Regions from separate parts of the Homo sapiens genome. Here region 1 is linked to region 2. The links are contacts of gene promoters, found by promoter capture Hi-C in blood cells and fetal thymus (Javierre and others, 2016). All regions are on one chromosome and are shown on one strand. The core of a region is centred on a gene start or on the middle of the fragment in contact, and the rest is flanking DNA. Distances in the headings are between cores, read along the strand shown.

The links. The method cuts DNA at HindIII sites, captures the fragments that hold promoters and counts their contacts. A CHiCAGO score of 5 or more calls a contact.
Region 1: a contact is called between a fragment that was not itself captured here and the fragment with the promoter of ELOVL7 in region 2, in 1 of 17 cell types (megakaryocytes). The highest score is 5.0, in megakaryocytes.

Annotation. Positions count from the first base shown.
Region 1 is chr5:60,784,500-60,790,096 of GRCh38, forward strand. It overlaps ELOVL7 (ELOVL fatty acid elongase 7), which reads right to left. Exons shown (of 9, transcript NM_024930.3): 3 at 2,835-2,932. The coding sequence starts at 2,898. Among named protein-coding and RNA genes, the nearest start is that of ELOVL7, 57 kb to the right of the region's middle. The HindIII fragment of the contact is 1,689 bases long and covers 1,299-2,987 here.
Region 2 is chr5:60,840,130-60,845,986 of GRCh38, forward strand. ELOVL7 (ELOVL fatty acid elongase 7) reads right to left here and starts at 4,140. Exons shown (of 9, transcript NM_024930.3): 1 at 4,031-4,140. RefSeq lists silencers at 3,812-3,871, 3,882-4,041, 4,062-4,361. The HindIII fragment of the contact is 2,652 bases long and covers 2,715-5,366 here.

The sequences.
Region 1 (5,597 bases), core at 893-3,392, 58 kb before region 2:
TTTCTTCTGTAGCTGTGGAATTTTTCCACATGAAATAACTATGCATGACCACTACTTCTCTAGCAATCAGAAAACCAATGAATATCAGTAAGTTTCCTTACGCTACTCAGGGTTAGGGCTAAAGCCAAGAATACACTTGAAATTCTTGGCCCTTGATCATAAGTTCAGACATTTCCAGGGTAAGCAGACTAAAACTGGACTAAGATGGCCAAAAATGATTCCTAATGGATCTCAGAGATCAATACTACACTAAGTAGAAGGAAAAAACTTTCCTGTTATGCCTGACAGCGTTTTTTATAAAGCTGTATATCTCAAAACAAAACATTTTAACCCTTTTAGACCATGCCTGGGAAAAAAATTATGTAAAGAAAACAATTTTTAAGTATATGCTATATGAAGAGAATTTTCAGATGAAATCTATCATCTGTAACAACCAGCACCACTCTTTTATGTTGGGATACTTCCGAAACAGCAGAGCACTTTCATGTATGTTATCTGGTAGCTGGTAGATGCTATTCTCACTTATGTTTTGCTAATAAAGAAACAAAGACTCACAGCCAATAAATAACGTGTTCAAGATCATCCAGCTGGGCTACAGCAGTGTCAGACCTTAAATCTAGGTCTTTTCACTCCAAATCCCCATATCCTCTCTCCCCTCCCAAGTCTTCAAATGAGCATAACTTCAAATACAAGTATTCCTTGCCTTCTCCCTGCCTCTCTCCCCTCATCTTCCCTGCACCGTTTGCAATGCTGTTGTCAGGACTCCACTCCACATCTAATCTAATTTTACTCAGCAATTTCAATGTAGGTATTCCTAATAAAAATTAAGGAGTTGATCCATGGATAAAAGTGGAAGTGGAATTCTAAAGAAGTTCATATTAAGGCATTTTTAACTTCTAGGACTACATAGATATTTATTATTATCTACATCTATTCAGCTCTTGAGTTAGCATATTGATTATTTGAGTCTCTTGGATTCTTGTATCTGGGATAGTGACTATCAAGAATTGGATACCAAGAGATCTGTTCTTCCAAATAACTCTATTTCAAAAACCCAATCTACTTGGTTCCTAAGTTCAAATACTGAGAGTTCATGTAGCAAGGCACACCTCTCCTTGAAAAGCAATGAAAATATTAGTATTTAAATTAATACTGACTTTATGAGAACTACTGTAAACCTTCAGAGAAGGATGACCCCTAAAGAAACTTGAATATTCTGTGTATCATATATTGGAAAACTAAGAAAAAAAAGTTAAGAAAAGATAGGCATAGTCACTATGTATCCCCTACCACAGTGAAGCTTCTCTCTCTATGAGATACTTACAAAGAACCTTGGCATTCCTCAAAGGAAAAACTGTTGGGAACACTTTTAGTGAGATAAATTTGGTCTTTAGTAGTCTGCTGAGAAAGCTGCAAATGATGAAACAGTGTATCTTTGCTGAAATCGTTGTAAATTTGACTATAATTTCATCTGTGGTAGGTGCCAAGAGGTGTGCATTTCCTTCCTGAATTTGGTAGACTTGCAATTTCTAGTTGATAGGTAAGAATCAACCTAAAGTAGTGATGGTGGTGAGTATGTATAGCTCAATATCTCAAAAATAAACTCAAATGTTAAATACCAGAGTACTACAACTAATAACCAGAACACATAGGTTCTAGTCTTTTCTGCCATCTTGACTTTGAGGTCACATTTCTTCAACTGTAAAATGAGGCATTAGCTTCGATGATATCTAAGATCCATCTCAGTTCTAAGATGCTCTGATTCTTTTTTTTGAAATTTTACTTTTGTTCTGCTTTTAAAACTTTAAAAAATGGTTATAAAAGCAACACAACATATTTGTTGTGATTTAAAAATATGTAGACAAATATAACTACGGAAATAAAAATTACCCATAATCCTACCCAGAGATAACTGCTAAACCCCATGAAAGAAATGTATGGAGTATTTTATAACCTGCTTTCATTTAACATATTTTAAACTTCTTGCTATGGCATTAATGTCTTCTGAAACATTGACTTTTAAAATAAATGGGCAAGGGTAAAAGGCAGGCATATCAGAATCACTCGGAGGTGTCCCAGGCAGTCATTCCCTGGTTTTCCTGTTCCCTGTTCACTCTGACAGGTTCCTGGGGGCTGCAACTCTTTCATTCAAAAGAGTTGGCAGTGGCCGGGCACAGTGGCTCACACCTGTAATCCCAGCACTTTGGGAGGCCAAGGCGGGCGGATCACGAGGTCAGGAGATCAAGACCATCCTAACACAGTGAAACCCCGTCTCTACTAAAAATACAAAAAATTAGCCAGGCATGGTGGTGGGTGCCTGTAGTCCCAGCTACTTGGGAGGCTCAGGCAGAAGAATGGCGTGAACCAGGGAGGCGGAGGTTGCAGGGAGGCGGAGGTTGCAGTGAGCCGAGATTGCACCACTGCACTCCAGCTTGGGCGACAGAGTGAGACTCTGTCTTAAAAAAAAAAAAAAGAGTTGGCATTAACTGTAATTTCCCTCAGGAGCATTAGGGAAGAATCAGGCTGAAGAGCACTGTCCTTCCAAAATCACTTTTAATGGCTACTAAGTTAGAATGAGTCATCATTTATTGATCAGTTCCCTTCACTGGATATCTAGGCTATTTTCCTTACTGTAAACATTGTAATGAACATCTGTGTAGCTCCATCTTTGTACATATCTGTAATGAAACCTGTGCACTTCCTCTTCGTTAACTAGTAATAAGGGACTGTTAAGTTGCAAAGTCTCTCATTCTGTTCCAGTGAAATCCTATTAAATATGAGAATCTGACATAAAAAGGAAGGATGAACCTCAATTAGGAAATGTGGTTACTCACCAGCATCTTTGATCCAATTATCATAAAGATGCACAGTCCTCGATGTAAGATCACTGAAGGCCATTTTCCACAGGATTTACTGGCTCTTTTAATGGGTTCTTCAGTAAAATAAAACAGAAATGAGTTTATAATCTATAAATGCAAATAAAGTCAAGCTTATAGTAATACATTATTTAAAATGCTAAAAATTTAATATGAATAACTGGCAAGACAACAAACTCCCACTGAAGGCAAATGCATAAGTAAATTACTTTAAACCCTGATGCAGTTGCAGACATTTCGGGTTTTCCATCCTTCTAGAGACACTGCTAACATCACTGAAAAAGACTAATATTCTATGTACAAGACTCAAAAGCAGTAAATGACTCTAAGAACTTTCATAGGAGCAGCTCCCTTTTATGCTGACAACATAATTCAGGAACGGACTGCACTTGAAGTGGCAAAGCTAAAGCAGAAACCCTGGAGAAGAAAGTCAAGAGATACACAAACTTTCAGAGAAGATAAACTGATCCTAGACTTAGAGCTCATCTTCAGGCCTCATAAAGTCATCTATATGCAAATTTTTATAATTTAAGTAGAATAGAGACAGAAAGAGGGAAAGGAAGGTCTATAATATCCAAGGAAAAGCTGCTTAGTTTATCTAGACAGATAGACAAGAATAACTGGAGAAAGAAATCTGAAAAAGAAGACCAGTGAGGAGAAACTAGCCTTATTATGTATTAAAAGATATTATAAATCTGCAATAATTAAGACACTGTGGCACTGGCACATGGAGAAACGAACGTAATAGATTAGAATGTTCAGAAATAAACTAAATACACTTGAAAATTGAGAACTATATTTCAGTAACTAAATATTTTAGTAACTAAAATATACCTAAGATGTATATTTTACCGTATTTTAACATCTGTAAAATCAGGACTCACCTTCCAAATGAATGGTATGCCATAAAATTACTGGTATATTTGATTCAAAGCCATGTGGTGGGAACATGTAAAAGTTCTAGAGATGATGGTGGTGATGGCTGCACAACAATGTAAATGTACTTAATGCCACGGAAATTCACACTTTAAAATGGTTAAAGTGGTAACCATTTAAATGAAAATATATATAAAATGGTGAAAATAATAGGTATATTTTACCATGATTTTTAAAAATTGGCCGGGTGCAGTGGCTCACACCTGTAATCCCAGCACTTTGGGAGACCAAGACAGGCAGATCACCTGAGGTCAGGAGTTGGAGACCAGCCTGACCAACATGGTGAAACCCCATCTCTACTAAAAATACAAAAACCAGCTAGGCGTGGTGACGGGTGCCTGTAATCCCAGCTACTCGGGAGGCTGAGGCAGGAAAATTGCTCGAACCCAGGAGGCAGAGGCTGCAGTGAGCAGATTGTGCCACTGCACTCCAGCCTGGTCCAGCCTGGTCCAGCCTGGGCAACAGAGTGAGACTTGGTCTTAAAAAAAAAAATCTTCTAGGGTTCCCACAAGAAAATTCAGACTTTCCTCTGGATTCTAAAGTAAAGCCATTTTACTTACGTAAGTATAGGTAAAATTATATATGGCATATGCTATATGATAAAGGTGGCATCTCCAATGATTGGGCACTGAATTACCAGACATTAATCACTAAATGGTGTGGCACACCTGGACAGCCATCCGAGAAAAAAAGGTTCAATCCAAGTGTTATAATATAAACCAAGATAAACTCCAAATAAAGCAAATATTTAAGTAAGAACAACAGAACCATGAAATCACTAGATGACATAGTAGAAGACTTTTATAACCTTGTAGTGGGAAAGGCCTTACTAACTAAGACCTAAAATTCAGAAGACATAAGAGAAGGCTAACAAATTTAATCATAAATGTCAAACAGTAAAAAATATGTTCAATTCATATCATAGACAACGGCTACTCTCCCTAATATATGACAAGTTTCTAAAATTGATAAAAGACCTTAAGTCAATAGGAAATGGGCAAAGTTCACAGAAAAGGAAATACAAGTGGCACTCAAACATATGAAAAGTTGCTTAACTAATCATATTTAAATAATCTGCAATATTTTTTGTCTATTGAATAGGCCAAAATTCAAACATTTTTTTTATCAAATGGGCCAAAATCCAGACAACCATTAACTGTGTTGGCAGGAGTGTGGGAAATTCTCTCTCTTCATGCATTACTAGTGGAAGTACAAATTAGTGTAACTCTTATTGAGGACAATTTGCCATTATCAGTCAAAATTATAAATGCATACTTTTAACACAGCATTTCTACTTCTAGAAACTTATCCTGTAGAAATACATACACATATTCAGAAGGGCATATATGCAAGTTTATTCATTGCATCAGTAAGAGCAAAAGACTGGAAACAACCCACATGTCTACTAATGGAGAGCTGGTTAATAAGTGATAACAGATTTAACACCATGAAATATTATGACATTGTAAATAAGAATGAAGAACCTCTCCATGTACTGATATGGAAATATTTCCAAGATAAATCACTATTTGAAAAAAGCAAAGAGCTGGGCGCAGTGGCTCACGTCTGTAATCCCAGCAGTTTGGGAGGCTGAGGTGGGCAGATCATCTGAGGTCAGGAGTTCGAGACTAGCCTGGCCAACACGGTGAAACCCTGTTTCTATAAAAATACAAAAATTAGCCGGGCATGGTGGCAGGCGCCTGTAATTCCAGCTACTCAGGAGGCTGAGGCAGGGGAATCGCTTGAACCTGGGAGGCAGAGGTTGCAGTGAGCCAAGATTGCGCC
Region 2 (5,857 bases), core at 2,890-5,389:
TAGGCGCTTTCTTTTATGCACATTTGAAAACCCTATGGCAGGTTGAATTGTGTGCCCCAAAGAGGATATGTTGAAATCCTAACCCCCAATACCTCACAGTGTGCTATTATTTGGACATTGAATTTTTGCAGATGTTAAAATGAGGTCATACTGGAGTGGGATGGGCCCTAAATCCAATATGACTGGTGTGTTTATAAGATGGTTATGTGAAGACACAGACACAAAGGGAAAATGCATATGAAGACAGAAGCAGAGATTAGAGTGATGCCAGCACAAGGAATATCAGAGATTGCTGCTGTCACCAGAACCTAGGAGAAGCATGGAACAAATTCTCCCTCAGAGCTTTCAGAAGGGTTCAACACTGCTGACACCCTAATTTTAGACTTGTAGCCTCCAGAACTGTGAGACAATAAATTGCTGTTTTTTCAAGCTACCCAGTTGGTGGTACTTTGTTATGGCAGCCTGAGGAAACTAATACAACATTTAATAATACTGTTCATGTTTAATTGAATTGCTGTTACTTCCTAGAGAGAGAAGTTAGGTAAAATGCATTGATCCTCTTTTTAAAATCGCTTTTAGAAATCTGACAGCATGTATTGAGAACCATAAAAATGACCATACTTGCTGACGAAGTAATTCTACTTCTGGAACAGTATCATTAGGAAATGAGTCCCAACTTGTAAAATGATACAACTGCAAAGATAAGTATTACTATAACTTAGGTTGTTTATAATTTGTTGCTAATATACTTGTCCAACAATAGAGTTTTAGTTAAGTAAATCACATTATAATTACTAGAATACAAACAATATGAGTTCTGAAAATTACATAAGATGAAAAATGCTTACTAGGTATTATATGGAAAACACAGAATACTAAAAAAAATTACTTTCCTTTTTTTTTTTTTTTTTTTTTAAGACAGAGTCTCCTTTGTTGCCCAGGCTGGAGTGCAGTGGCATGATCTCAGCTCACTGCAACCTCTGCCTCCTGGGTTCAAGCGATTCTCCTGCCTCAGCCTCCCAAGTAGCTGGGACTACAGGCATGTGCCAACACACCCAGCTAACTTTTGTATTTTTAGTAGAGATGGGGTTTCACCATTTTGGCCAGGCTGGTCTCAAACTCCTGACCTAAGGTGATCCACCTGCCTCAGCCTCCCAAAGTGCTGGGATTACAGGGGCGAACCACTGTGCCCAGCCTGAGAATACTAAAATACTATATGGAGTATGATGAAGGAAAATATGCATAGAAAAAAAGAGAGAGACAAAGGCAACCTGGTTAAATATTCATTGTGGTAGAATTATGTTCAGTGGGTCTGAACTCTCTTCTTGGCTCCCTGATCTTATCCTTTTGGTACCAATTTCCAGTCTTATTTTCTCTCTCCTCAAGCCTCTCCATGCACAGCCAATTCTTTCTTGGCAATGCCTCTTGGGAGCAGTCCAGGCCCACTTCACCTTATACAGGTTTTTGTGAAAAGATTCCTATTTGGCCTGACTGTAGCCTATCTATGGCCAGAATAACACTGTCGTTCTATTGCTGAATACATCTACTGTGTTAATCTGTCCATTTATGTTTTATGCACTTTTATGTATGTGCTACGTTTTTCAATAAAAAGGTTTTTTTTTAACTTTATGTGTTTTCATATTTTGTTTTGTCAAGATAAGGATAAATGGTTTTCTGCTGATTTGCTTCATTATACCTCTAAATGTAATGTTTCATCAGAACAGCTGGGTACCTGTTTGTGACAATGGAGTGAACACAGGCTTTTCTCCCCTTCATGTACAATGTCTACCAGCTCCTACACGTTTACCAATGCAAACTCCGTAACTTCCTGTAAAACCTGGCTTAAAAATTTCCATCATCAAACCTGCCTGATGTGTGCTACCAAAATTTATACTGTATCATCTTCTACATTTATCAAGCAACTACTAGCTGTAAGGCCTGAAGATTTAATGTCCTAAGCTGTTTGCAATCTTTTTGTGCAAAGCAAACATAAAAGATGATAACAAATAGCAGAGAAGGGCATATGTGTTCAAAGTGGGGAAGAGGGAGAGTGGTGAAGAGAGGATGGGAGTGGGCGAGACTGATAAAGGCTAGAAGACACCATGTAAAAATTGGATAGAAGATATTTAACGAATGGGAGAGGAATGGCACGGCACCTTGGAGACCAGGATAATGGCAGGACCCTTAATGGAAATGAGCATCTGGAGCTGTTTTGGGGAAAAGCCGGGCAAGTCCAAGCGGAATATTATAATGTGCACTGACAGACGTTACACTAAAACTGAAGAAGACATGGAAAGCACAGAATCTTAAGCCAGATAAATACAGGTGATAGATGAAGTAACAAAGTCCCAAAAATCTATTTTTCTTAAAAAAAAAAAAAGCGGGGGCAGGGGGAGGGTGTGGGGATCCTAAACTAGTATAAAGACACATAAGAAGGAAAAGAGGGACCTGAGATTGACAGCCTGGTCAACGATGCCTGAAACAGCACGGGACTTCAGAAAATAAGGACGAGCAAACGAACTCTAGGTGAGGCAGTGTAGGACAGTGGTTAACAGCTCCAGTGCTGGAGACAGAACCCCAGAGCTGGAATCTCCTACCGCTGAGATGGGTGTGGCCTTGGGCAAGTTACTTAACCTCTCCGTGCCTCAGTTACCTCATCATTAAAATGAGAATAATATTAATATCTACTTCCCAGGATCGTTGTGAAGATTAAAAGCTTTTACACAAGAACTGACATCAGTGCCTGGCACCTAAGCACTGATAAATGTCTGCCACGGGGTGAGGGGTGGATTTTATTTAGTTCTCGGTGACCTTGGGGAGACCAATTTCTGATCAGTAGTACGAAGAGAAACTACAAAGAAAGGGAATGAATAAGCGGGTGCGTGGTAAGAACGCAGAGGCAGCCACCAGGTATCGATGACCCTTTCGGAGCACGTAAGCAATAAAAGTGAGGAATGAAATAAAGGGTAATCCGAGAGCACAGGGTTAAGTGAACATGCTTTCCGAGGGGAGATCGTAGCAAGAGGGAAAAGACCACTGGCGAGGAACTCGGGTCGCTAAAACTGTTCTTCAGTCGACGCGGGACTAACTACACTGGGAGCAGGACAGGTGTAAAGACCCGCTCCTTCCCGTCCCGAGTTCCCCAGGGAGCTCCAAAGAGCGCTCTGTCCGCACCGGGTGAAGTTTGAAACAGCTCTGACTTGAAGGGGGAAAGCCCATTTCCCAACGAACCTGGGAAAGCCCATTTCCCAACGAACCTGGGAAAGCCCATTTCCCAAAGAACCAACGATACCTGGGACGACAAAACAACAGGCTTTCCTGTTTCCATCTCCGGCACGACCTGTTCCACGGCTCTGTATTCATCAGCCTCCTCCCGGCCAGCAGCAGCCACCAAGACAGGATGCGGCTCGGGGAGCCGAAGGGACAGCGCCCCAAGTTCATCTGGCCGCGGGAGCAAAAAAAGCGCCCAAAGGGGAAGGAAGGAAACAGAAAGAAAGGGGCTCCGGAATTTGGGGGGGTGGCTAGCGAGGCCAGACCCCGGAGCTGGGAAAATGACCTCCGCGTCCAAGGTCGAGCAGGTCCTTCTCCCTCCCAGTCCCGCCGGCGAGCACCTCTGCCCCTCCCGCTCCGCTCCGCAGGGCCAGCGCCGCGCGGGACCCCAGTCCAGGCTCCGCTCCGCAGCGCGCCCACCGGGCCCGACCTTCCCTTCGGGATGCTGCCGGGTGGGGGCTCCCGAGAAGGCGCAGGTGAGCGCCGCGGCCCCGCGCTCCGGCGAAAAGGGCCTCGGTCCTCCCCACGCGCAGGCAGCGGGGACAGAACTTCCCAAGCGCCTCCCGAGCCCAGGGAGGGCCTGGCCCCGCTCCCGGGGCCCCCGCACCCGGGTCCCACTTCTCGCGCGCCGCGCCCAAGTTCCTCCATCCGGCCACTCCCGACGCCGTTCCCCTCGGCTCTGCCTCCCTCCCCAGTCTCTTCTCCTCCGCGCGCCGGGAAAGTTTGGCCCCTGCCCGCCGGCCTGGAACCCCGCACTCACCGCACAGGGAGCGGAGCCGAAGCGCCGGGCGCGCGCGGGAGAGAGGGCGGCGACTGGCAGCGCGAGCGCGGAGCTCCTCACAGCGGCCCCCGCTGTCCCGGCCGCCGACTGGGTTGGAAAGGGGAGGAGGCCGCCGGGTGTCACCTGCCCGCTATCCCACCCAGCCGCGTGACGCGCGCAGCGCCGCCCCCTGCCCGCCGCCGCCAGGTGCCCGCCGAGGGCCGGAGGGAGGAGCCGGGGCGGCGCGAGGGGGAGCGGCCGGGAGGGCGGAGGCCGCCCCGGCCTCGCCTCCGCCGCGCGCCCTGACTCTCGGGACTGGGGCCCACCGGCCGCTCTGGGTTAGCGGGGCTGGTCGTGGCACCGATGACCTTTCTTTCCGAGAGCAGATGCCATCACTTGGGGGACATCTCCAGGCTGACATAGCAGAGTGGAAATTGTCGTCATGCGTGACTCATTTGGGAATGAGCAGTAGAAAAATCCGAAATGAGGAAAACCTAGCTGAGGCTGGAGGCGGAGAAAAAGGGGACTCCTTGCTTCTGAAAGGGTATTGGGAGGGTTAATTCGCATCTGAAATGGAAGCCAGACCAAGAGGAGAAGGCCCTGGGAGGGGAAGGCCGACTTGGTTCAGCTCCATCCCCTGCTTATAAGGAATAAGAAACTAGAGAATTGAGGCAGCCTGGGGGGCATGGGGAGAGGACTTTTAGAGCAATGAAGATTAGATTGTATATCATCTAACTTTGTTTCTGGTAACAGCAACTGCTGCAGGAAAAAAAGTCTAGAAAATTCATTTCTCGTTACCTACTGTTGGATTGGAAAGTGGGGGTGGGGATGAGCGTTCGGAGTGTGCACCTGCGCTTGGTTTATTTATTTTTTAAACGTACCTGGCCTTGTGTCTGGTAATGATCCTCCTAATCGCTGGTATGATTTGGATCATCAATAGCTGAAAGGCAAAATAGGGGCCTAGAGAAGTTCCCTGCTTCTGAGGCAAAACCAAAGGCTGGTGTTGAACTGTCCAGAAACCTAAAAAACAATAATCATTTTTAGTTGCAGTCCTGACCCAACCACCTCACAAATGTGGGCTTTGAGTTTGTATTGCGAGTTCTCAGCATGGAATCAAGAAACACAAAAAGGGGCTGGGAGCGTCAGGACCACCAGAGAGGATGGGTAGGGAGAAAAAAAAAATTGGGGTGTCGGAAGCATATTTTCCTCACATGTAGGGATTGCCTTCGGCAGCTTAATCCCACTACATTAAACAAGAGGTTTTAATGTTTTTATGTAAAACTTCGAAAGTGTCCATTGAAAGAAAAGCAAAAAAAAAAAAAAAAAAAAAAAAAAAAGCTTAAATTGCAAAGAATCTCGAAGTCAAAAAAACTAAAGATTTCTCCTTTCTTTTAGATAACTTTGCTTTCATATTAAAAACAGATCATTTAGTAGACTTAGGAAGTCTTTTGGGAACGGGAGACAATTGCCTAATGATACTAGCCTTTGAGTCTATCACAATTTACCATTTATATATACTTATGAAATTTCAAATATGCAGAAGCTCAAATGGATTCATTTATTTAACAAATACTGGAGTGCTGCTATGTTCCAGGCCCTGAAGTTTCAATAGATAACAAATTCCCCGTTCTCAGGGACTATACGTTCATTCTAGTTGGAGATGACAGACAATACATGAATAAAGAAGTAAAAAAAATGTAGTGTTCAGCCAGGCGCAGTGGCTCACGCTTGTAATCCCAGCACTTTGGGAGGCCGAGGCGGGCAGATCGTGAGGTCAGGAGTTCGAGACCAGACTGTGCAATACAGTGAAACGCCGTCTCTACTAAA